Regions from separate parts of the Homo sapiens genome. Here all the other regions are linked to region 6. Evidence: promoter capture Hi-C in 16 types of primary human blood cells and fetal thymus (Javierre and others, 2016). All regions are on one chromosome and are shown on one strand. Each heading gives the region's core, a stretch centred on a gene start or on the middle of the fragment in contact. The rest is flanking DNA. Distances are from core to core; before and after follow the strand shown.

Region 1 (3,676 bases), core at 693-3,192, 200 kb before region 6:
GAGGTGCAAGAATTGCTTGAACCTGGGAGGCGGAGGTTGCAGTGAGCCAAGAATGTGCCACTGCACTCCAGCCTGGGCGACAGAGCGAGACTCTGTCTTAAAAAAAAGAAAAAAGAAAAAAAAAAAAAGAAGATACACAAATGGCCAAGAAACATACGAAAAAATGCTCAACATCACCAATGATCAGGGAAATGCAAATCAAAACCACAATGCAATAGCACCTTAATCCTGCAAGAATGACCATAATAAAAAAAATTTTGAAAAGTAGATGTTTGCATAGATGTGGTGATCAGAGAACACTTCTACAATGCTGCTGGAAATGTAAACTAGTACAACTACTATGGAAAATAGTGTGGGGATTCCTTAAAGAATTAAAAGTACAAATACCATTTGATCCAGCAATCCTACTACTGGGTATCTAGCCAGAGGAAAAGAGGTCATCACATGAAAAAGATACTTGCACATGCATGTTTGTAGCAGCACAATTTACAACTGCAAAATCATGGAATCAACCCAAATGCCCATCAGTCAATGAGTGGACAAAGAAACTGGTGTATGTATGTGTGTGTGTGTGTATATATATATATATATATATATATATATATATATATATATGATCGAATACTACACTCAGCCATAAGAATGATTGAATTAACAGCATTCGCAGTGACCTGGATGAGATTGGTGACTATTATTCTAAGTGAAGTAACTCAAGAATGGAAAACCAAACATCATATGTTCTCACTGATATGTGGGAGCTAAGCTATAAGGACACAAAGGCATAAGGATGATACAACGGACTTTGGGAACTTGGGGGGAAGGGTGGCAGAGGGAGGAGGGATAAAAGACTACAAACAGGGTGCTGTATACTGCTCGGGTGATGGGTGCACCAAAGTCTCACAAACCACCACTAAAGAACTTACTCATGTAACCAAATACCACCTGTACCCCAATAACCTATGGAAAAAAATTTTTTTAAATATATACTAATATTGAGAACCTAACAATGATTCTTCTAAGCTCAAAAATCACAAAAACTATTTAAGTCACCACTCTCTGTGCCTCCAGTGGTCAAAGTAGGAGCCAAGAGTCCATGTGTACCTCTGTACATGGACAAAATCTCCTTAATTCCTCATTCTGTCTTAAACCACAATTTCCCAGAGTTCCCTGCTTCGTGAGATGCTCCAAGGGAAAGATTCTGCAGACAAATATGTTTGGTGAGGTCTATTTCATAAGCAGATAAAGATTCTGAGAAATCCCGCAGTAAAGAACAGGGTTTTGTTTAATCCTATATTTCCCATACTTATTTGGCCACATATAAAGCCTATTCATACTCAGCAGATGAACTTTTAGGGGACAGTGTTTAATGCAATTCTATTCTGTATTCAATGAGCAGAATACTCAGCAAAATATTTCTCCTTACACAGCAGCATGGTCATATTTATCCAGGGGAAAAGGCACTGGAACCCTTGGCCTCAAAATGTCTATCACTTTCACAAATAAATGTCTTTGTTTACCATCATTAAAAAATGATTCAGTAGCATTCATCATAGATAGATAGATAAATAGATAAAAATGATTCAGTAGCATTTATCATAGATAGATGGATGGATAGGTAGCCTCTTGTATACATAGGTAGGTAGGTAGGTAGGTAGGTAGATAGATTGACAGATAGATAGATAAATAGCCTCTTGTAGTCATACCAGCTGGAGATTACAAAAACCAAGAAGGTAATTTTTCTATAAAACCCAGCCCTCAGGCTGGATGTGGTGGTTCACGCCTGTAATCCCAGCACTTTGGGAGGCTGAGGCAGGAGAATCCCTTGACCCCACGAGTTTGAGACCAACCTGAACATGGCGAGACCCCATCTCTACAAAAAATAAAAGTAAAAAATTAAATTAAATTTAATTAAATTAAAAAGCGGGTATAGTGGCATATCTCTGTGGTCCCAGCTACTAGGGAGGCAGGAGGATCGCTTGGGCCCAACAGCTGAAGGCTGCAGTGAGCCATGATCGCACCACTGTACTCCTGCCAAGCAACATAGTGAGACCTTGTCTCAAAAAACAAACAAACAACAAAAAAAAAACCCTTCCTTTTTCTTCACCACAATTTATAAAAATAAAAGTAAGTACACCAGCGCTTCTATTACCAATCCTGGAAAAGAGATCTTTATCTCAGCACTGCTGAGGAAAAAAGGTTAAAGTATGGCTTATCAACATTTTTCATAGCTTTGGCAACCATAAAATGATTTTTCCTGACTCCAGGAACACGAGGGTGAGAGAGAGTGTGTGCACAAAAGAGCCAGCATGAAAGAGCGAGCCTAAGACAGTCACAAGCCACCAAACAGAGTGGACTGATGGCTCAGGAGGCCTGTTCTCATCACCTTCTGGTGAGACCTCCGAGTATTAGGACAATGGATAAGGCTGGAAAGAAATATGCTTGCTATTCTCACATCAGTTAGAATGGCGATCATTAAAAGTCAGGAAACAAAGATGCTGGAGAGGACGTGGAGAAATAGGAACACTTTTACACTGTTGGTGGGATTGTAAATTAGTTCAACCATCGTGGAGAAAGTGTGGTGATTCCTCAAGGATCTAGACCAGAAATACCATTTGACCCAGCAATCCCATTACTGGGTATAGACCCAAAGGATTATAAATCATTTTACTATAAAGACACATGCACACGTATGTTTATTGCAGCACTGTTCACAATAGCAAAGACTTGGAACCAACCCAAATGTCCATCAATGACAGACTGGATTAAAAAAATGTGGCACATATACACCATGGAATACTATGCAGCCATAAAAAAGGATGAGTTCATGTCCTTTGCAGGGACATGGATGAAGCTGGAAACCATCACTCTCAGCAAACTATCACAAGGACAGAAAACCAAACACCGCATGTTCTCACTCATAGGTGGGAATTGAACAATGAGATCACTTGGACACGGGGCGGGGAACATCACACACTGGGGCCTGTCAGGAGGTGGGGGGCTGGGGGAGGGATAATATTAAAAGAAATACCTAATGTAAATGATGAGTTGATGGGTGCAGCAAACCACCATGGCACATGTATACCTATGTATCAAACCTGCACATTGTGCACATGTACCCTAGAACTTAAAGTATAATAAGAAAAAAAAGAAAGAAATAGTATGCAAATGGTACCTAACTTACTTCAAAAGAAAAGCTGTGGCTTTGAAGAACGTGTTCAATGTTTCTTTAACGGGGCTTTATACATGGCATCACTCAACTTGGAGCAGAATTCATTATTAAACTTATCTGGGCTTGATGAGGACTTGAGAGCTGAGAAAGTACTGAAGCAGCTTGCTTCTAAGGGAAACATTTCTCTGCTTCCTGCTGTGGGTATGTGGAGACTGGCATCTTCCCTTCTCTCTCTTTTCTAAGCCTAAATTCCAAAGCAAATAACCAAATTGAGACATACACCATGCCTGGATAAGATTGTCACTGCTGCATGAAGAATTACCACAAGTCCAGAGGCCTCAAACAACACTCCTTTTTCACCACCGTTTCCATGGGGCCAGAGTCCAGGGATCGGTGCAGCTAGGTCCTCTGCTCAGAGTCCCACAGGCTGAAATGAAGACAGTGGCTGGGGCTTTGATCTCCTCTGAGGCTCAGGGTCCTCTTCCAAGCATATTGGCTGTTGTAAGA
Region 2 (3,649 bases), core at 505-3,004, 190 kb before region 6:
GTTCATGCAGATAAAACCTGTCTTGGATATCAGAGGCAAGGGGAGAACACCCCCACCCCTGGTGAGATACACCAGGGACAAGTTTAGATGAACCACCTGAAAAAGCATCAGAGAAAGTGAAAGAGCAAAGAGCAGAGAGAGGGACTAGGGACATGTGGGAAAGAACCATGAAGTGCTAGCACCTTCCATAAAACACACAAACAAAGGGCTGGAACAGAAACACCCCCACACAGCAACAATGAGTTTGGGGAAACGGTAGTGATATTATCCAAAGGGTAACGGCTCCCAAAGTGAATGAATGCTTCCTATTCAATAAAGCAGTAAAGTACCGAGGTGGCCTGGAGAGCACGGCCAGCCACCAGCTGCCTGGGAGAGCGAAGGTGCCCAGGAGACCGACTGCATCGGCACCTGTTCCCAGGAGCCTCTCCCACCCACAAAGCCACAGGAATAGCAACCAGCAGTGAGTCACCGGGTCACCAGAGAAAAACCAGCAAAATGTCAGTCTCCGAGCAAGCTTCTCTATCATTGGATTCCTAGCCAGGGTGGTCGTTGAGAATCTTCCAGGCCGTCCTCCAGCCTGCGAACGCAGGGGAAGTACGGGGAGGTTCTAGTGAGAATCTGGGCTGTCGTCTGGGCCCCATTTGTAAACCCCAAACCACAGCCCTCTTCCCTGCCCTTAGGCGTTCCCTGCCTTCCTCTTCCTCTTCCTTCCTTCCTTCCTCTTTCCCTTCTTTCCTCCCTTGCTCCCTCCCTCCCTTCATCAGATATTTACCGAGCATTGTTCCCTGTGAGTCACTGTGCTGGTGTTGGCGACACGGCCAAGAACAAGCCTAACAAAGTCCCTGTCCTCAAGGAGCCTACATTGTGGTGGGGAAACCGATGATAAAGAAGTAAAAAATATACAAACGAACAAACTGGATAAGGAAGGTTGCTGACAAGTTCTAGGAAGGAAATAAACAGAGAAAGCCACGCACATTGTGGGGGGTCAGGGAGGAGCTTGGGAGGAGACATTTGCACTGAGGCAGCCACGCACAGAGCTTCGGGAACTCTGTTTCAGAGAAAAGGAATAGCAGATGCAAAGGCCGGGAGGTGGGACAGGGCTTGGGGAGCTTCTAAGAAGGGGGTGGGGAGACTGTGGGGAGCATGGAAGTGGAGGTGAGGGAGTAAGGGGGACCAGTCAGGAGGCCAGGTTCTGGGACAGAGACAGTAATGCCTTAGGCTGGGGTGGAAAGGAGTGGACAGGATGGGTCCACAAGACCTTTTTGGAAAGGTGCCAACAGCACTTGTTCATGAGAACGAAAGGAAACAACAAATCATCTCTGTTATCATTGAACACTTAGGGCACGCCAACTCTGGTAAGGCCCTGCCTTCAGCCCTGGGATACAAAGAAGGATGAGGTCTGGGTCTTGCTTTCAATGAGGTGACTGACTAGCCAGAAACATAATTTTACAAAGATAAAAAAGAAGGCCCTTGCTCTGGGGCTGACATGGTTAGGTTTTGTGTCTCCACCCAAATCTCATCTTGAATTGTAAACCCCATAATCACCACGTGTCAAGGGAGAGACCACGCGGAGGCAACTGAATCATGGGGGCAGTTTCCCCCATGCTGTTCTCGTGATAGTGAGTGAGTTCTCACGAGATCTGATGGTTTTATAAGGGGCTCCTCCCCCTTCGCTTGCCACTTCTCCTTCCTGCCGCCTTGTGAAGAAGCTACTTTTTCCCCTTCACCTTCCGCCATTATTGTAACTTTCCTGAGGGCTCCCCAGCCACGCAGAACTGTGAGTCAATTAAACCTCCTTCCTTTATAAATTACCCAGTCTTGGGCAGTTCTTTATAATGGTCTGAAAACAGACTAATACAGGGGCTATGTAAGTGAGACAGATAATTCTCACTCCAGTTATGCTGAGAGGAACCTGGACTCCGAGAGCACATCTGATCCATGGAAATACTGTCTGTCTTCACCTGTCTTGAGAAGCAGAGCAGGCAATGGGATGAGGGACGGATAGAGACATTCCCAAACATTACTGGTGAAAGTGTAAATCAGTACAAGCTCAGGAGAGGGCAACTTGAGAATTTCTAGAAAAGGGAAAATTTGGGTCCTGATGTGTGAAGCGCCACAGAAAATCGAGCCAGTTCAGGCCCCTGCCTTGTCCCTACCCAGCTGAGCTGCAAGGAGGCTGCTCTGCAGAGCTCACACTAACCCACCTCCCTCCAACACAGGACCCCAAAACAAATCTTGCCTATAACAGGTAGCATGCTGGAAAACCAAGACCTCAGATGATGCAGCTGGCAGAGTCTCAAACCTATGCTACTGCCCAAGGTAGATGGAGGCAAAGCAGCATGCCCTCCTCCCATAACCTGCTCCCCAAAGCGGCAAGCACCCCTCCCATGACTTGCTCCCCAAAGCAGCACACCCACTTCCCATGACCTCCCCAAAATGGTGCATCCTTCTCCCACGACTTGCTGCTGGATCCACTGATTCCTACACCAGCTCTCCAGCTGGGACAGCCACCCTTCCTGTCCCCAGCCACCCTGCTCTGTTAAGACCATGACATCCTATTTGCATCTATAACTCCCACCAACAATAGCGGGACCCAGGTGCTTATTTATGAAGATATTACTGTACATGTACAAATCTCAAAGAATCATCTAAAGAACGATTATTAACAAAAAAAGGTATTTTGTTTGGTGGCTCAAGACAAAATTAGTGGTGGCTCAAGACAAAATCAATAGCTTTTCTATGCAAAAACAACGGCCAGATGGAATATGTCATGAAATAGGAGACCCCGTCTGTAATACTCATAAAAGGAAATGAAATACCCAGGAATACATTCAACCCTAAACATGAAAAGTCCTTATGAAGAAAACTTAAAATGCTACTGGGAGACGCGATGAGTAGCCTGGATAGATGGAGTGGTGAGCTTTGTTCTTAGGCAGAAACGCTCATCGTCATAAACCTGTCATTTCTGCCTACGTTAATGTAGAAATTTGAAACAAAGCTTGTAAAAAAAAATACCTAGACGATGTTCTTGAAATTCGCAAGCTGATGCTAAAGTTCACATGGGAAAATATGCTGTAAGAATAACCAAGAAACTTTTGAAAAGGAACGTAATACAAGTAATACAGAAGACGAATAGATGATAAGACGTGAAGTTGCAGCAACTGAAACAGAATAGTACCTGAAGAGGCAGAGCTGAAAAGATTAAAGCGGCACCATATAATAAAAATAGAATGTGAGGCTGGGCACGGTGGCTCATGCCTGTAATCCCGACACTTTGGGAGGCTGAGGCGGGTGGATCAAAGAGGTCAGGAGTTTGAGACCAGCCTGGCCAAGATGGTGAAACCCCGTCTCTACTAAAAATACAAAAATTAGCCAGGCATGATGGTGGGTGCCTATAATCCCAGCCACTATGGAGGCTGAGGCAGAGAATTACTTGAACCTAGAAGGCAGAGGTTATAGTGAGCTGAGATCATGCCACTGCATTCCAGCCTGGGTGACAGAGGGAGACTCCATCTCAAAAAAAAAAAAAAAATAGAATGTGAGCTACAAATATAACATTAAATTTTCTGGTAGGCACAATCACCAAGGGGAAGGAAACAGGTGAAATTAATTGTAATAACATATTTTATTTTATCCAAATATATCCAAA
Region 3 (3,537 bases), core at 764-3,263, 240 kb before region 6:
GCCTGGCCAACATAGTGAAACCCCGTCTCTACTACAAATACAAAAATTAGCCAGGCATGGTGGCGTGCACCTGTAGTCCCAGCTGCTCGGGAGGCTGAGGCCAGAGAAACACTTGAACCTGGGAGTCAGAGGTTGCAGTGAGCCGAGATTGTGCCACTGCACTCCAGCCTGGGTGACAGAGTGAGACTCCATTTCAAAAAAAAAAAAAAAAAAAAGCCATAGAGAACAATGGATTTGAGAGCTTCTCATTTGAGGAGAATTCCCTATCCCAAGGCAGGTGGGCCTCTCATGCTGTCCAGTGGAATTTCAGGATGGCCATGTGGATGCGCTTCTTTCTCTTTTGAAATACAAGTGCTCACTGGGGTTGGCCTATTCCTGTTCTTCCACGACGGACATGTGGACCAGGTCACTTATTTTGGTTCACAGCTCTCTAGATGAACAGCAACTAAATCCAGACCTGCTGATAGAATCTCATGAGATCCTGAAATTCACACCTGATTCCATGATTACATGCGAATTTTTAGGTATCTTCCATGAGTCAGAAATGAATTTATGTCGTATATAAATATACAAAATGATATATAAGATGATTATTTATGACCAGGAGGGAAGACTGTAGCAGACTGTATTATACAGTCATCCCTTGGTATCCGTAGGGATACCTCCTCCCTCCCACAGATACCAAGATCTGCTGATCAAGTCCCTTGAGCCAGCTCTTCATATCTGTGTGTTCCTCACCACGGATGCAGAAGGCCTACTCTATTCACAATTATTCATGTCTCCCTCCCCTTAGTAGATGTTTATGTCCCCACCTGGAATTGCAGTACCTGCCTATTGGCCAAGCATACTTCCCTGTACAATGTCAGACTTTGCCATATGATTTGTTAAGCAACAGAATGTGAATGGATGTGAACACTCCACATCCAAGCAGAATTCTTCAAGGACGTCATGAGTTTCCACCAATTCTCTAATTCTTCCCCTCCACCATGACATTGCACATGGCCACAGGGGCTGCTGTTTCAGCCTGGAATCCAGAAGGAGAAAACAATGTGACAGAGATACAGCCAACCTGCAGCCTGCATGTTATTTGGAAGCAAAATAAACCTTCAGGATGGCAAACCACTGAGATTTGAGGTTTCCTTGCTGTGAGGCAAAGCTGACTTAAGCAGCCTGTTCCACCCAGACAACTGAAATCAATGCTTAAACTCTTAGCAATACACAATCTAATGCAAGGAATATGCCTGGGGTCCCATGTGAGCCCTCAGGCTTTTAAATCCTCATCTTTCCTGGGAAGGAGACATAGAGCTCAATTGGTTCCATATAAATGCTTCTTCAACTTTTGAGTAAATTCCATCATCTTTGTGAGCCATCTAACAGTGAAAGTATTAACAATGAAATTTTAAAAAATCAAATCATAATTTCCTTTTAACCAGCCATGCTTTGAATGACAAATATGTAGAGAGTGAGTTTGTTCTCATCTCTCTTCTCACTGCATTCTTACTGTAGCCTCTCACCTAACCTTGTTGGCTCCAGAGACCAAAAGAAAGTCAGCTAAAGCCACAAAGGCCAAATGGACATGAGAAAATGTCTGAAAATGCAATATCAGGGATTGTGTTTGTCTTGTGAAGTCCTTTTTGCCCCTCAGGGAAAAATGACTGGAGGCTCCTCTGACTTCGGAGTAATTGCTTTGAATGTTTTGGGGGAAGATATTTTTTCTGGGGATGTTGCTGTTGTTGCTAAAATGATGTCCATCCAGAAAAACATAAGATTGCCTTTGTTTTTAAACTTGATTATAAACCAGCCCTGAGAAGCCTTCTAAGAGACTTCCATAAGTCTTTTGAATAATGCCATCATTCCAAGTTGACCATTTCCAGGGAGCCCAATCTCGTTTGCCAGATGAGTTCTGCCGTGTTTGTTCACATACCAGCTTTATTACGTTTTAATTAGTTGTTATCTTTGACCCCAAAAAGGGATTCCCGAGCACCTCAGAATGGAGCTCACAGGCACTGGTAGGCCTTAGTGGCCCTTTCTGCTCCTGACCCCAGGGGGACACCTGGGGATCAAGCTGAGGTGAGAAGCAGACTCAAAGTCTTCTGTTCACAGATAAATGCCCCACGTGACCTTGCACGGGAATTACTGAATAAAAGAGACCACTACCCTGATTTGAACAGCACCAGACACAGAGCTGTGAAAGAAAATGCCTCTTACAGATGACAATGTCCGGTTGCCCAGTCCTGGATTTGTTTTATTTATTTACTGAGACAGAGTCTCCCTCTGTCGCCCAGGCTGGAGTGCAGTGGTGTGATCTTAGCTCACAGCAACCTCCACCTCCTGGGTGCAAGCAGTTCTCCTGCCTCAGCCTCCCGAGTAGGTGGGACTACAGGCGCACACCACCATGCCCAGCTAACTTTTATTTTTATTTTTGGTAGAGATAAAAAAAAAATGGGGTTTCGCCATGTTGGCCAGGCTGCTCTTGAATTCCTCCTCTCAAGTGATCCACGCACCTTGGCCTCCCAAAGTGCTGGGATTACAGGCATGAGTCACTGCGCCCAGTCCCAGCCCTGGATTTGAACCAGTGTTCACTGAAGCATTTCCAAGCCTGTTGTTGTGCCTTCAGGTATATGAAATTCAACACATATTCTAAAAAGGACCTTGCCAATGTTCAGTAGAATGGAAGGCCATCCCATGAGTTTCAGAAACACTGATGCTGCTTTAAAACAAAAAACTCCCGGTGATTATAAGGCTTACCTGGAGTATCTCAAATATTTCAGTAGCGAAAATTCAAAGACAAGGACCAGCAGGAATGCCAATTCCATGTTGCAATCACGCCTCCCCACCCACAAGCATGTTATTAGTGTGTGCTTCCAATGCATAATTACCTTTCATTTTCCCATAGAATTTCAGGAAAAAAGAGCACAGGGCTCAGATGGTTTGTGAAATCAATAGGTGATTTCATCTCTTACATGCAAAAATAATCAGTTCTATTGAGAAGGAAATGTATACACACACACACACATACACACACACACTACACACACACACACTGGAAAGCCCACATTCAACAGTCAAGGTCACACACACAGGAAATATTCATGAAAAGGGAACATTTGTAGTATCATCCTGAGCCATATAGCACAGTCCAAAGTACATGGGTTAATAAAGGGTTAATAAAGGAAGAAACCATCTCACTCTCAATAAGGCTGAATTTGATGTGCTCAAATAACACTGATTGCTCCAAAAAAAAAGATAAAATTCCTACAAAGAGGAGGATCCCAGGCCTAACGATTGGATTCTTTTCTAGACAACTGTAACCACCCTCTGGACACTATAAAAGAAAACAAGTATCCAAAATAGCAGGATGACTATTTGTAATTACTGTGTAATTGTTGGTTTTACATGTCTGTCTCTTCCTGGGCTTAGTGAAGGCAGAGACCAAGTTCACTAATTGGATTCAGCCAAGGAGAGCAGTTGGCTCCATGAAGTATGAATGAACAAATGAACTAATGAAAAAAAGAACACGTAAGTTCTGTACCAAAG
Region 4 (3,668 bases), core at 881-3,380, 140 kb before region 6:
AAGTGTTAATTCGAGGTAGACTATGATAAGACAATTACAAGGTAGACTATGATGGACCATTACAATGTTAATTCAAGGTAGACCATGATAAGTTAAGGAAACTGTAATCCCTACAGCAACCTGCAAACATAACACAAAGAGATACATTTTTAAATCCAGTAAAGAAACTAAAATGGAATACTAAAAACTATTTTATTAACCCAAAAGAAGGCAGGAAAGCAGGTACCAAAGAGCAAAATAAAATAGATGGGATAAATAGAAAATAAATAGTAAGATGGTAGTCACGGACCCAATCACATCAGTAATTATATTAAATATAAATTGACTGAACATTCCAATTAAGAGACGGAGATCCTTGGACTAGATGAAAAAGTAAAACACAATGTTATGTTGTTTATTAAATATAAAGACTCAGGTAAAGGTACAGAAATGGAAGAAGATATACCAAGGAAACACTAACAAAATGAAACTGGGGTAGAAGTAACTATATTAATATCAGGACAAAGTAGACTTCAGGACAAAAAGTATTATAACTTAATTTCATTGAGAATAAAACTGAAGAATCACACTCCTTCTCCTTCTATCTAGAAAAGTGTCCATTTCGAGTTATGTTTGGAAAATTTTCACCATATTCAGAGCCCTTTATGTACTGAAGATGACGGGACAGAATGTCCTCGCATTCTTTATATCAGGTGTTACAAACAGAATATTTGTGTCCCCTCGAAAAAAATTCATTTGTTGGAGCACTAGCCCCAGTGGGATGGGAAGCTTTTGGAGGTAATTAGGGTTACATGAAGTCATGAGGATGGGACCCTCATAATAGGATTAGTGTCCTTGTAAGAAGAGACATCAGAGAGCTCGCCCTCTCTCATTCTCTCTACCATGTGAGAACACAAGAAGGTGGCCATCTGCAAGACAGAAAGAGAGCCCTCACCAGGAACTGAATCTGCCAGCACCTTGATATTTTTCTGTTCTTTAAGCCAGACTTCAGTATTTTTTTATGGCAGCCCAAGCCAATTTAGATAGCAGGAACCCACTTAGCTGATGTCTGCCTTGACTTTTACATGGAGCAGTATTTCTAAAGGAAACCAAGTGAAATCTGAAAAGAACTTCTGCTTCAGCTTATACTGTTCATGACCTCCCCAGGGGACCATGTGAGAGAGAACAATGCTTTTGGGTTTTTGGGGGGTCTTTTTGTTTCTTTCTTTTTTTTTTTTTTTTTTTTTGAGACGGAGTCTCACTCTATCACCCAGGCTGGAGTCAGTGGTGCAATCTTGGCTTACTGCAACCTCCGCCTCCTGGGTTCAAGCAATTCTCCTGCCCCAGCCTCCCGAGTAGCTGGGGCTACAGGCGCGTGCCACCACACCCGGCTAATTTTTGTACTTTTAGTAGAGACAGGGTTTTACCATATTGGCCAGTCTGGTCTCGAACTCCTGACCTTGTGATCTACCTGCCTTGGCTTCCCAAAGTGCTGAGATTACAGGCATGAGCCACCACGCCCAGCCCGGAGAGAACAATGCTTTGGCTTTCCAGTGCTTTTCACAGAACTCCCTCCCTCCCATGAATTGGCCAAACTACATCTCTACCCCCAAACTTCACTTCTCATTTCTTCCCTGACACCAGCCAGAACTGTTTATCTAACTCTCCAACTTTGGTTCCTGAGCCTGGGGACCTGCATCAACACTACCAGCACCACGATCAATCCCAGAGGAGATGGACCACGCAGGCATGACCAGGACCTGCTCTATGGAGCACCCAGCTAGGGGTACGGTTATAAGCAAGACAGACACGGTCCCAGTCACCTTTGCCAAGAAGAAGGGATCCAGTGAAGATTAGATGCATACTCAGTTCCCTTACTCTTTCTTTCTTTCTTTTTTTTTTTAAGACATAGTCTTGCTCTGTCACCCAGGCTGGAGTGTAGTGGTGCAATCTCGGCTCACTACAACCTCTGCCTCCTGGGTTCAAGCAATTCTTGTGCCTCAGCCCTACTCAAGTAGCTGGGATTACAAGCAGGCACCACCATGCCCGGCTAACTTTTGTATTTTTAGTACAGACGGGGTTTCACCATGTTGGCCAGGCTGGTCATGAATTCCTGCCCAGCTCTGCCTCCCAAAGTGCTGGGATTACCAACGTGAGCCACCGCTCCCAGCCTCTTTCCCCTTCCATACTCATAATCATCTTTGCCACCCTCGGCTATCGACTGGTTCAATATGCTTCCACGGTGGCTTCTGGGCATTTTTCATAAACATGTGGCTGAGCTCAAGAGACAGCAAGAGAGGACAGGTATCCAGTTACAACTTTATGGCCTAACAAATGAAAAGGTGTTCTACCCACGGAGAAGGAAATCTAAGTCCTAGAAGGTTCCAACCAAGCCTATCTGCACTCAAGACTCCCCACCACTCTTAGACCAAGAACAAGAACCATTCCGTGCTTAAGGAGTTCCCCTCAGCAAGCCAGCCCACGCAGTGCGTGTGTGTGTGCGCGCGTGTTCGTGCCAGACCCACGGGGTCCTCCGGGAATATATATCGACAACAGAGGTGGGTTTCTGAACCCTGGTCAAAAGCCAGAGAGCAGACACGCTTGAAATGCTCTGTGCCACTGACTGCAAAGCCACAGATATTTTTCCTGCAGCCTCAATGAGCAAGGACTGTGTACACAGCTAACACACATGGGCATACAAATGCATAGAACAGTATTCACCAGCTGCCCTAGAAAACCAAGAGAGCATATGGCAAGAAAGAGAGAGTTCATGGCATGCATTCCCATCACCTAAATGCGCACTTGCAGGCATCCACAGAATGGTCAAAACTGCTGTCTTCTCTAAGAATCAGCCAGCAGGCCGAGTGCAGTGGCTCATGCCAGTAATCCCAGCACTTTGAGGGGCCAAGGCGGGCAAATCACCTGAGGTCAGGAGTTCGAGACCAGCCTGGCCAACATGGCGAAACCTGGTCTCTACTAAAAATACAAAAACTAGCTGGGCATGGTGGTGCACACCTATAATACCAGCTACCCAGGAGGCTGAGGCAGGAGAATCGCTTGAACCTGGGAGGCGAAGGATGCAGTGAGCCAAGATCCCGCCATTGCACTCCAGCCTGGGAGACAAGAGCAAAACTCCATCTTAAAAAAAAAAAAAAAAAAAAAAAAAGAATCGGCCAGCCCACCATACTAGGAAATTGCCTTCATCCCCTTTTCAGCCTGTCTGCATGCCAGCAGGACCCAAAACAACATCTGAACATCTTCCTAAAAGTCACGGGAGGCTGTGGAATGCCTCCAAAGGTGGAAGAAACAATGCTAACCATGGCTTCCAGTTGCCCCTGGGAATACATTTGGTACCCAGGACAGCCTGAATGCCAGCTCTCTCCAAACTTCACACTATGAAGGGCCTGTGGCTTCAGTGTGTCAAGAGCAACCCCACCCTGTGAATTAAAATATCCTGTTTCACAAAGAAAAAAAAAAACTCAGTTTTCCTTTGCCAGTGAACCCTTCTGAACAATAAGCTTTCTCAACCCTCCCCAAGCCCAGAATTATCAGGCACCGCTTCCATTACTGCAAGCTCACAGGTTTCCTCCCTTAGAAACTGAAGTATTAATTAGTACTGTGTATTTGTATTCCTTAGCCTGCCATGCCCCTCAGGGCATAGCCAGCCAGCCCACTGTTCCAGTGTCAGG
Region 5 (3,522 bases), core at 360-2,859, 220 kb before region 6:
AAGCAGTTTTAGCGCCAAGGAAACTTGGGAGTGGAATGTACGTGGCTGAGCTTATAGCGAGAACCAGCTGCTTCAGAGAAGAGATTGCATCCCACACTGCCTGGCTGCCCTCCCTAAGCCCCACACATTATGTCTAAAAAAATGCAATCCTCCAAAGCCTAGCCAGTGTGAAAACCCACCTATTGGGTTCATTGTTGAACTAGAGAAACCGTTCCCAGTCAACAGACAAACACGTAAGCAGTAGTAAAACATGAAGTCAATGGGCCAATACCTCCCTGTTCTTCAGTTCATCAAATCTTTTTCCAAAGGCACCTAAGGGAGGATGTTTAACAGGGAAAATGGGAGAAAGGGATGATTCCAAATACAAGACTGAAAGAGGACACTGTGATACCTGGAGAAGAGAGAGTGTCTTGAGGTGGAAGAAGGGGATCAAAGAGCAACTGAACTCCATCGTGTTCCCGAACAGGACAAGCCCTGGGGTTGCTGATCCGGGGTTGGGCACTTGAGAAGCTTGAGCTAGAAAGGAAAATCATCTCCTGCAAGACCATTTCCACAGGAAGAGTGCCACGCAGCACATCAGAAGCAGAACCAATAAGGAATTCAAGATTTTAGAGTAGAAAACAAAGACACTCAGCTAATGGCCAGTGACTGCAGTTCTACAATCTATAATCCACTTGACACGAGCTTGGCATCAGTTTCATTTTGCAAAACATGGCTTTGATAATTGCATCAGATCTGCAAGGCTGTGTAGGCAGAATTCTTATTGCCAAGTGAATTTTCCTATAAGAATAGGGCATTAAGAGAAAAATCTGTTTCTTACCTGAGTGTCGTACGGCTTACGCTTCCCTGACTTGAGTACCCATTCACTTTTTCCCCCAACACTTCAGAAAGATTTACAGAAAATGCACAGATGGCACCTCACAACTGAATAATCTCCTAAAGTAAATCCACCTCTTGCTCTACCAGAAAATAATGCCTTCTCCTGGTCTTTCCACAGATACACAAAATGATAGGCAATTCTCCTATGCTAATAGACCGATGAAATTCACCAATAATAATAGTGATGACAAAGTTCACTAGTGAAGAGTATCTATAACTGCATCAGACCAATCTGGTTCAACTTTTATGTAACAAAGCTGTGAGCTGCTTTTCAGTTGCCATGGACCCTCAGGTCATGTAACCTAAGCATGCTCAGATGAACCAAGTGTACAACCACAGGGGGAACCTAAGTGCTGGGACAGAGGAGTGGGACTGAATTAAGAAGCAGACACCACATGGCAGGATCCAGGATCCAATGAGATTGAACTCTGGCATCACCCCATGACAGGATCCAATCAGATAATGCCTCCTAACGTCACCTCATTGCAAGATCCAATCAGATCACACCTCATTACTTATGCTTATAAAACCCAACCCAACCCCCAGCTCAGGGAGACAGATTTGGGCATTCCCTCCTGTCTCCCTGCCAGTTGACTTGACTCCCAATAAAGCTGTTCTTCTCTCAAAAGCCAGTGCCACGGTATTGGCCTCTGTGTGCATCGGGCAGCAAGCCCACTGATGCTTGGTAACATTTCAACTTCCTCCCCCAGAACATACTGCATATTTAAATGGGGAAATTAACAATTAGTAAGAGAATCAACTGATTCACTTTTAACTACCTTCTCTTTAGCCTACAGAGGATGCTATGAAGAAAAGAAAAAAAACTCAACTTGACAGCTGAGTGGGGACAACTGAGACAGAGAAGCCCAAGATCTTGAACAACACTGGGTGTATGCAGCCATCTGGGGTGTGATGAAATATAACTTATAGTCCCTTGCCTTTCAAACACACACACACACATACACACACACACAGACTTTGCATAAAATGCAAGAGGCTCGTGAGTCCTTTGGTACTCATGCATGGAGCCCAGACATAAAGAACTCCTGGCCTCATTTCTAGAATTTACTCAACAATATAACTGTCCACAGAGATGTAGATACTAAAATGCTCTGTGCCACATTCTTTGCAATAGCAAAGCATCAGAATTAACCCCATGGGCATCCAGAGAGGGCTAATTAGGTAGCATCATGGCCAATAACAAGAATGGGATGGATCTATGAGCACCTCAGGAAAAAAACACCCAAGGGTACCGTTAAGTGCAAAAACATATGATACAGAACAATGGGTCAGGTGTGATTATAGAAACATGATAATTCTGAAAGGATGCACAAGAAACTAGAAACGATGTTTGTGTCTGAGATGGGGGGACTAGACCATAAGGGATTTGAAGGTGGAAGAAAAATTACTTTTAACCGATGTCATTATATTTTTAATTAAAAGAAAGCTAATTGGAGATGGATGGATGGATGGATGGATGGATGGGAGAGAGAATGAAAGAAAGAGAGACTGATAGATTTAAAGGAACTTCTTCTGGCCTACCTAAGTCCCAAAATATCCCCAGCCTTGAGAATAGCTGATATCAGAAAACATTGCACACTAAGACCTAAATAGGAAAGTATCTCATAAATGCTTTTCCCAGCTCAGGCTGCCGTCACTGCTGCTGCTCCTCAGAGCAGCTGAACTCCTCTCCCAGAGTGTGGCCTTTCTAGTTCTTCCTCTGGTCGAACCAATTATGGGACATTACAACAGCAGCACCAATATGATGTTTTAAAGGCTAATGTTATTCACTAAATACCCATTAAACCCATCTCCTTGCTCCATTTACAGCAAGCTTAAGGGCAAATCCAGATGGTACAAATAATGCATATTCAGGCTCCATCTGCATGAAGCCAGTTATCAAATAGCCATTATCAGTTTTGGAGTCCTCAGGTGCCTGACACCCACAGGTGTGTCCAGGTGAGAAGAACAGCGACCTTTCAAGAGATGGCTGGGAGATCATCTCTGTGCTTCCCCAAGAGCTGCATTTGCTTTTGCAGCTGAACAGCTAGCAACGGTTACAAGGGTTGCTTGGTAACCCGGTAACAGGCTGTGCCTAGTGTTCTTGAGCAGGGGGACTGGGTTACATCTCCCTCCCACACACCTCACTCCGCTACCACTTAACTCTGGGTTGGCCAAGAAGACCCAGCAGTACCCAGAGGCTGTCCTGCAGAGCCAACTCCCCTGACCCCGTCCCGGCTGTGACTCCATTGGAAAATGTCCATCCAAGGGCTTGCCAATGTTTACCTTTTTTGACTGACAGGCACTGAATTCACTGTACCACCTTCCCCCGACCCCACCAGCCCATGGCCCTGAAGATAGAAAAATCAGATAAAGTCTGGCCAACTTTTATACCCTAGAGAAGACTCACAATCAGGATCATAAGGTCTTCAAAGGGGAACCCAGGAGCCCAGCGCAGTCATGTTAGTGAAAATAGACAGAAAAGGCCTGTGGCCTTGTGTTCAGAACTCAGCATGAAAAATGACAAGTTTTACTTGAATACAGTGCTCTACTGTGTCACCAGACAGTCCTTGACTATGTTCCAGTAAAAAGAGAAGATGATACCTAAAGCGTTCTGATGGGTATAAGTGACAAGTGTGATTG
Region 6 (3,613 bases), core at 688-3,187:
GGTAGAAGGTGGTCTTCGGCTCATCTGCAGAGTGGGTCTGAAGCTACATGTAGTAAGCACAAGGAGGTTCTCATTGAGGACATGGCTCTGCAGTAGAGTCAACATCCTCCCAGGCAGCTGCTCCCCCAAGCCCATCATCCACTTCTTTCAGCTTTGAGTACTTCCAATTTGTTACCTTGTGGGTGAAGTGCACACAGAGGCACGTGTTGCAGGCGAGGGAGTGGCAGCGGCAGCGCTGTCCCTCCTCCACGATCAGCCCATCCCTGCAGCCAGGGTAGAACAGCAGCATCATCTCGGACTCTGCTGGCTCCAGTTATTATTTTTTTTAATGAAACGTAAATCTGGTATTAACAGTTTGAGAACTTTTAGGAAAGGAATTTGAGGGCAGAGTGGGCACTTCCTGGCTCTTCCTTCTTTTCCTGGAAACCAGTCAGATTACTGGTTTTAAACTGGAGGTGGCAACAGGCATTGTAGCAACTGTGTGGCCAGAGGATGCCGAGTTCCCCTGAGCACAATTCCACGATGCCCTCCTGATATTACTATTACCTCTCTGCCTCTCCCTCTTCCCACTGACGGTGAGCAGACACAGCCCTCTTCCAGTGAGCTAGCCACCCCAGCCCTTCCACTTGCATACACATGTCTAAAAGAGATGCTGGCTCCCAGATTGACTCCTGGAACTTAAGGCAATTGCAGCTCAATTTCCATCTCACCCTGAGCTCCAGGATGCCAAGATTTAAGCCCTATCATGACCAACGTCTCAGAGAGAGATGGAAACTCCTGATCCCCATCTCACAGTGGGTACCCCAAGATACAGCTTGGCCCAGATAGAAGAGAGAGCTGGCTGCTGCTGTACCTGGTGGTTGCTTTTCCATGTCACTCATCTATCTCTAAGGCTCACCCCACCTGCCACACAGCTTCTGGACTTTTACTTTTCCCTGGTGAATTGGAAATCAGATAATAGGATGGACAAATCAAGGCAGCTCAGCTCACAGAGAAAGCTAGTTGGGGTTTGCTTTCTGTTTTCACATCCTCTAAAACTGTACTGAGGATGGTGTGTGTGTGTGTGTGTGTGTGTGTGTGTGTGTATACCTATGTACTTGGAGGAGGGTGAGGAAGGGGAGGCTGCAGGATTGATTATGACTTATTAAACTATTGGAAAAGAGGCTGAATCATCACAGTCAAAAATAAACAGCTGCAACTCCATGCGACTCCCACTTCTTGCCTGCTCCCCTTTGCTCCCTCACAGCATGTAGGAGAGACTGTGCTGGGTCAGACCAGCAGGTGCTGACTGACGTGGCTACAGCAAGGGGACCACCTGTATGGCCGCTGCACCTCCAAGCTGTGGGACGCAGGGACAGCTGGGACCAGTCGACGTCCACTGGCCCTCTGATGGCTCCTAGGACTGAATCTTGGACTCCAGGTGCGGGTTTACACTCCCTGCGCTCATTGGGAACTGCATGGAGAAGCGCTATCCCCTGAGCCCTTTTTCTCCCTACTCTTAGCCTGGCCCTGCGCCCTGCGCCCGGGGCTGGCCCACGGTAAACACAGCTTTGCTAACTTGTTTGGCTAAGGAAATCACAGAGGTCCCGGTATAAGTCTGGGTCACCCCGGCCGCCACTCCAGCTGCCTAGAATATATGGGTGGAAGGGAATCGACTCTGTGAAATCAGAGGGAAAATAGCGCTTGTCCTTGCCATGAGTCTTGAGGAGACCGAAAACGCTTAACCTTTTACGCCCCCGCAGGCGGGTCCCCTCTCTCCCCGCTCCCCGGCTGTCTGTAAGCTCTGCCTGCGGCCACCCGCAGGCGTTTCAGCCGGTCTCACCCCTGTCCTTCTGCAGGACCCGGGAGGAGGGGTTGGGGGGGCGGAGCGAAGCCGCTGTGACGTAGCGGGAGGGGGGCGTGGGGAAATGTGCCGAGGGGCCCGGGCTGGCTGGGCCAGTCCCAGCGGCGCAGCCACCCATGCGCGCGCGCTCGCAAGACCACCAGCGCCCAGAGCCCCAGTCTGAGGCTTGGCGCCGGGGGTCTGCGGGCGAGGGGAGCTCTCTACGTGCGAGGGGCTAGCGGGAGCCGGCACAAGAGGGTCGAGGAGCCAGGAACCCCAAACGTCCGGCGCCAGGCGCTAGCCAAGCTGCTGCGCGCCCCGGCGCCCAGCTGGCTCGGGGACAGCCGCTGGGTGTCGGAGACCGGAGCTAGCGGATTGCAGCGGAAAAGCAAAGGTGAGGGGTGTGTGTGTGTGTGTGTGTGTGTGTGTGTGTGTGTGTGTGATAAGAGAGATGGAGGGAGCGAGAAGCGCACTTGGGCACCTGTGTGCATCTGCGCTGATGGTGGTGTGCCCATCCGAGTGCCTGAGCTTAGGTCCCGGTGCGTGATTCTCCGCTCTTGTGCCTTTTGGGGTGATTGTAGTAGGAATGAACGACAACGGGTACCCTTGCCTGAGTAAGGGGGCTGTGGGTAGAGTGTGCTGGAACGGACGTGTCCTCGCAGCCTCATGCCCGTGTGCGTGGCGTGTGCCCTTTAGCCCGAGATTTCAGGTAGCTGCGACGGGTGACAACTTCTCTCCCAGCCCCCTACAAAAGAGACCTGGCGCGAGGGGAGCGAGGCCGTGAGATGCCAGCTGGGGCTCCTGCGGGAGCGCACCCGGAGATCCGAGCCTGCCAGAGGCAGGCGGCGGGCGCAGAGCGGAGAAAGAGGGGCTTCTCTCCCTAGACGCTGAACGATCTAGGATCCGTCCCCGTCCCCCACCTCGGGACAGAAAGGACAGTTTGTCTAGGTTTGGAGAGAAAAAACCACTGCATAGGCCGTGCCCAAAAGCCGCTGGCCAAGTCCCCCAAGCGACTGTCTTCTGCGCCCCGATGTCTCTGTCCTCAGCGCCCCCCCCCCACACCCGGCACCCCTGCTGTGCGTTTCGATACTGGGCGTGCTGGCGCCACAATCTCCGCTCTTGCCTCGTCTTCCTGGAAATGGCACAGAGTTCTTTGGGAAACCCTTGCTCTGAGGATCAGCGAGTTGGATGGCCAGGAGGAGGACTTTCTGTGCCAGCCGGGAGCAACCGGCTCCGCGGTCCTGACACTCGCCCCTCCATTTCTCAACCCCGTAGGCCAGCACCGCCCCGGCTTTTCCCAGGCGCTCACGCGCCGCGGTGGCCCTCAGGGGCTTTTGTCACCCTGCCAGTGGGGGCTCTCGCTCTAGCCGCACAGAGACCAAGCCGGGTTCTGCAGGCCCTGAGGGAGGCGGGGGGTGGGAAGTGAATGCGGGAAACATGATGGGGAGAGGAGAAACTGAAGCTGAGTAGGATTTAGGACCTCCCCTGATGTCGGGTCGCCATCCCAACACTCATTTCTTGGGCTGGTAATCACAGCCCCTATGTAAAAGGGGGGCGGGGGGGGCAGGTGCGTGAGACCATTCTCACCCTCCTCTCTACAGAGCCTGGACATGGTTCAGAGGAAACCAACCACTAGCCATTTCCAGCATCTAACAATTCTTGGGCTGGAAAAACAAAGAATGCAGAAAACGAAACTTCCTTGTACATTTAATTTAACCACAATTCATCTAGAATTGTCTGCCTGGCATTGGAATATTCTTTCTCTGAAACAAAAATGAAACAGAAGTCTCT

What was found. Contacts are between HindIII fragments. The CHiCAGO score rates a contact against its expected background, and 5 or more counts as called.
Region 1: a fragment that was not itself captured here is called in contact with the fragment with the promoter of SSTR2 in region 6 in 1 of 17 cell types (M0 macrophages); the score reaches 5.0 in M0 macrophages.
Region 2: a contact is called between a fragment that was not itself captured here and the fragment with the promoter of SSTR2 in region 6, in 7 of 17 cell types (M0 macrophages, M2 macrophages, monocytes and 4 more). The highest score is 22.7, in M0 macrophages.
Region 3: a contact is called between a fragment that was not itself captured here and the fragment with the promoter of SSTR2 in region 6, in 3 of 17 cell types (M2 macrophages, M0 macrophages and M1 macrophages). The highest score is 6.6, in M2 macrophages.
Region 4: a contact is called between a fragment that was not itself captured here and the fragment with the promoter of SSTR2 in region 6, in 3 of 17 cell types (M0 macrophages, monocytes and M2 macrophages). The highest score is 8.0, in M0 macrophages.
Region 5: a fragment that was not itself captured here is called in contact with the fragment with the promoter of SSTR2 in region 6 in 4 of 17 cell types (M1 macrophages, M0 macrophages, M2 macrophages and 1 more); the score reaches 9.3 in M1 macrophages.

What each region holds. Positions count from the first base shown.
Region 1 is chr17:72,958,752-72,962,427 of GRCh38, forward strand. The region is part of intron 4 of SLC39A11 (solute carrier family 39 member 11); the gene reads right to left. Among named protein-coding and RNA genes, the nearest start is that of SLC39A11, 130 kb to the right of the region's middle. The HindIII fragment of the contact is 9,360 bases long and covers 1-3,676 here.
Region 2 is chr17:72,977,507-72,981,155 of GRCh38, forward strand. The region is part of intron 4 of SLC39A11 (solute carrier family 39 member 11); the gene reads right to left. Among named protein-coding and RNA genes, the nearest start is that of SLC39A11, 110 kb to the right of the region's middle. RefSeq lists an enhancer at 398-898. The HindIII fragment of the contact is 2,484 bases long and covers 513-2,996 here.
Region 3 is chr17:72,924,807-72,928,343 of GRCh38, forward strand. The region is part of intron 5 of SLC39A11 (solute carrier family 39 member 11); the gene reads right to left. Among named protein-coding and RNA genes, the nearest start is that of SLC39A11, 170 kb to the right of the region's middle. The HindIII fragment of the contact is 6,640 bases long and covers 1-3,537 here.
Region 4 is chr17:73,019,476-73,023,143 of GRCh38, forward strand. All of the region lies in intron 4 of SLC39A11 (solute carrier family 39 member 11), which reads right to left. Among named protein-coding and RNA genes, the nearest start is that of SLC39A11, 71 kb to the right of the region's middle. The HindIII fragment of the contact is 2,729 bases long and covers 767-3,495 here.
Region 5 is chr17:72,942,709-72,946,230 of GRCh38, forward strand. The region is part of intron 5 of SLC39A11 (solute carrier family 39 member 11); the gene reads right to left. Among named protein-coding and RNA genes, the nearest start is that of SLC39A11, 150 kb to the right of the region's middle. The HindIII fragment of the contact is 2,203 bases long and covers 509-2,711 here.
Region 6 is chr17:73,163,073-73,166,685 of GRCh38, forward strand. SSTR2 (somatostatin receptor 2) reads left to right here and starts at 1,938. Exons shown (of 2, transcript NM_001050.3): 1 at 1,938-2,216. It also overlaps the pseudogene POLR3KP2. RefSeq lists an enhancer at 1,063-1,312 and a silencer at 1,853-2,192. The HindIII fragment of the contact is 15,303 bases long and covers 1-3,613 here.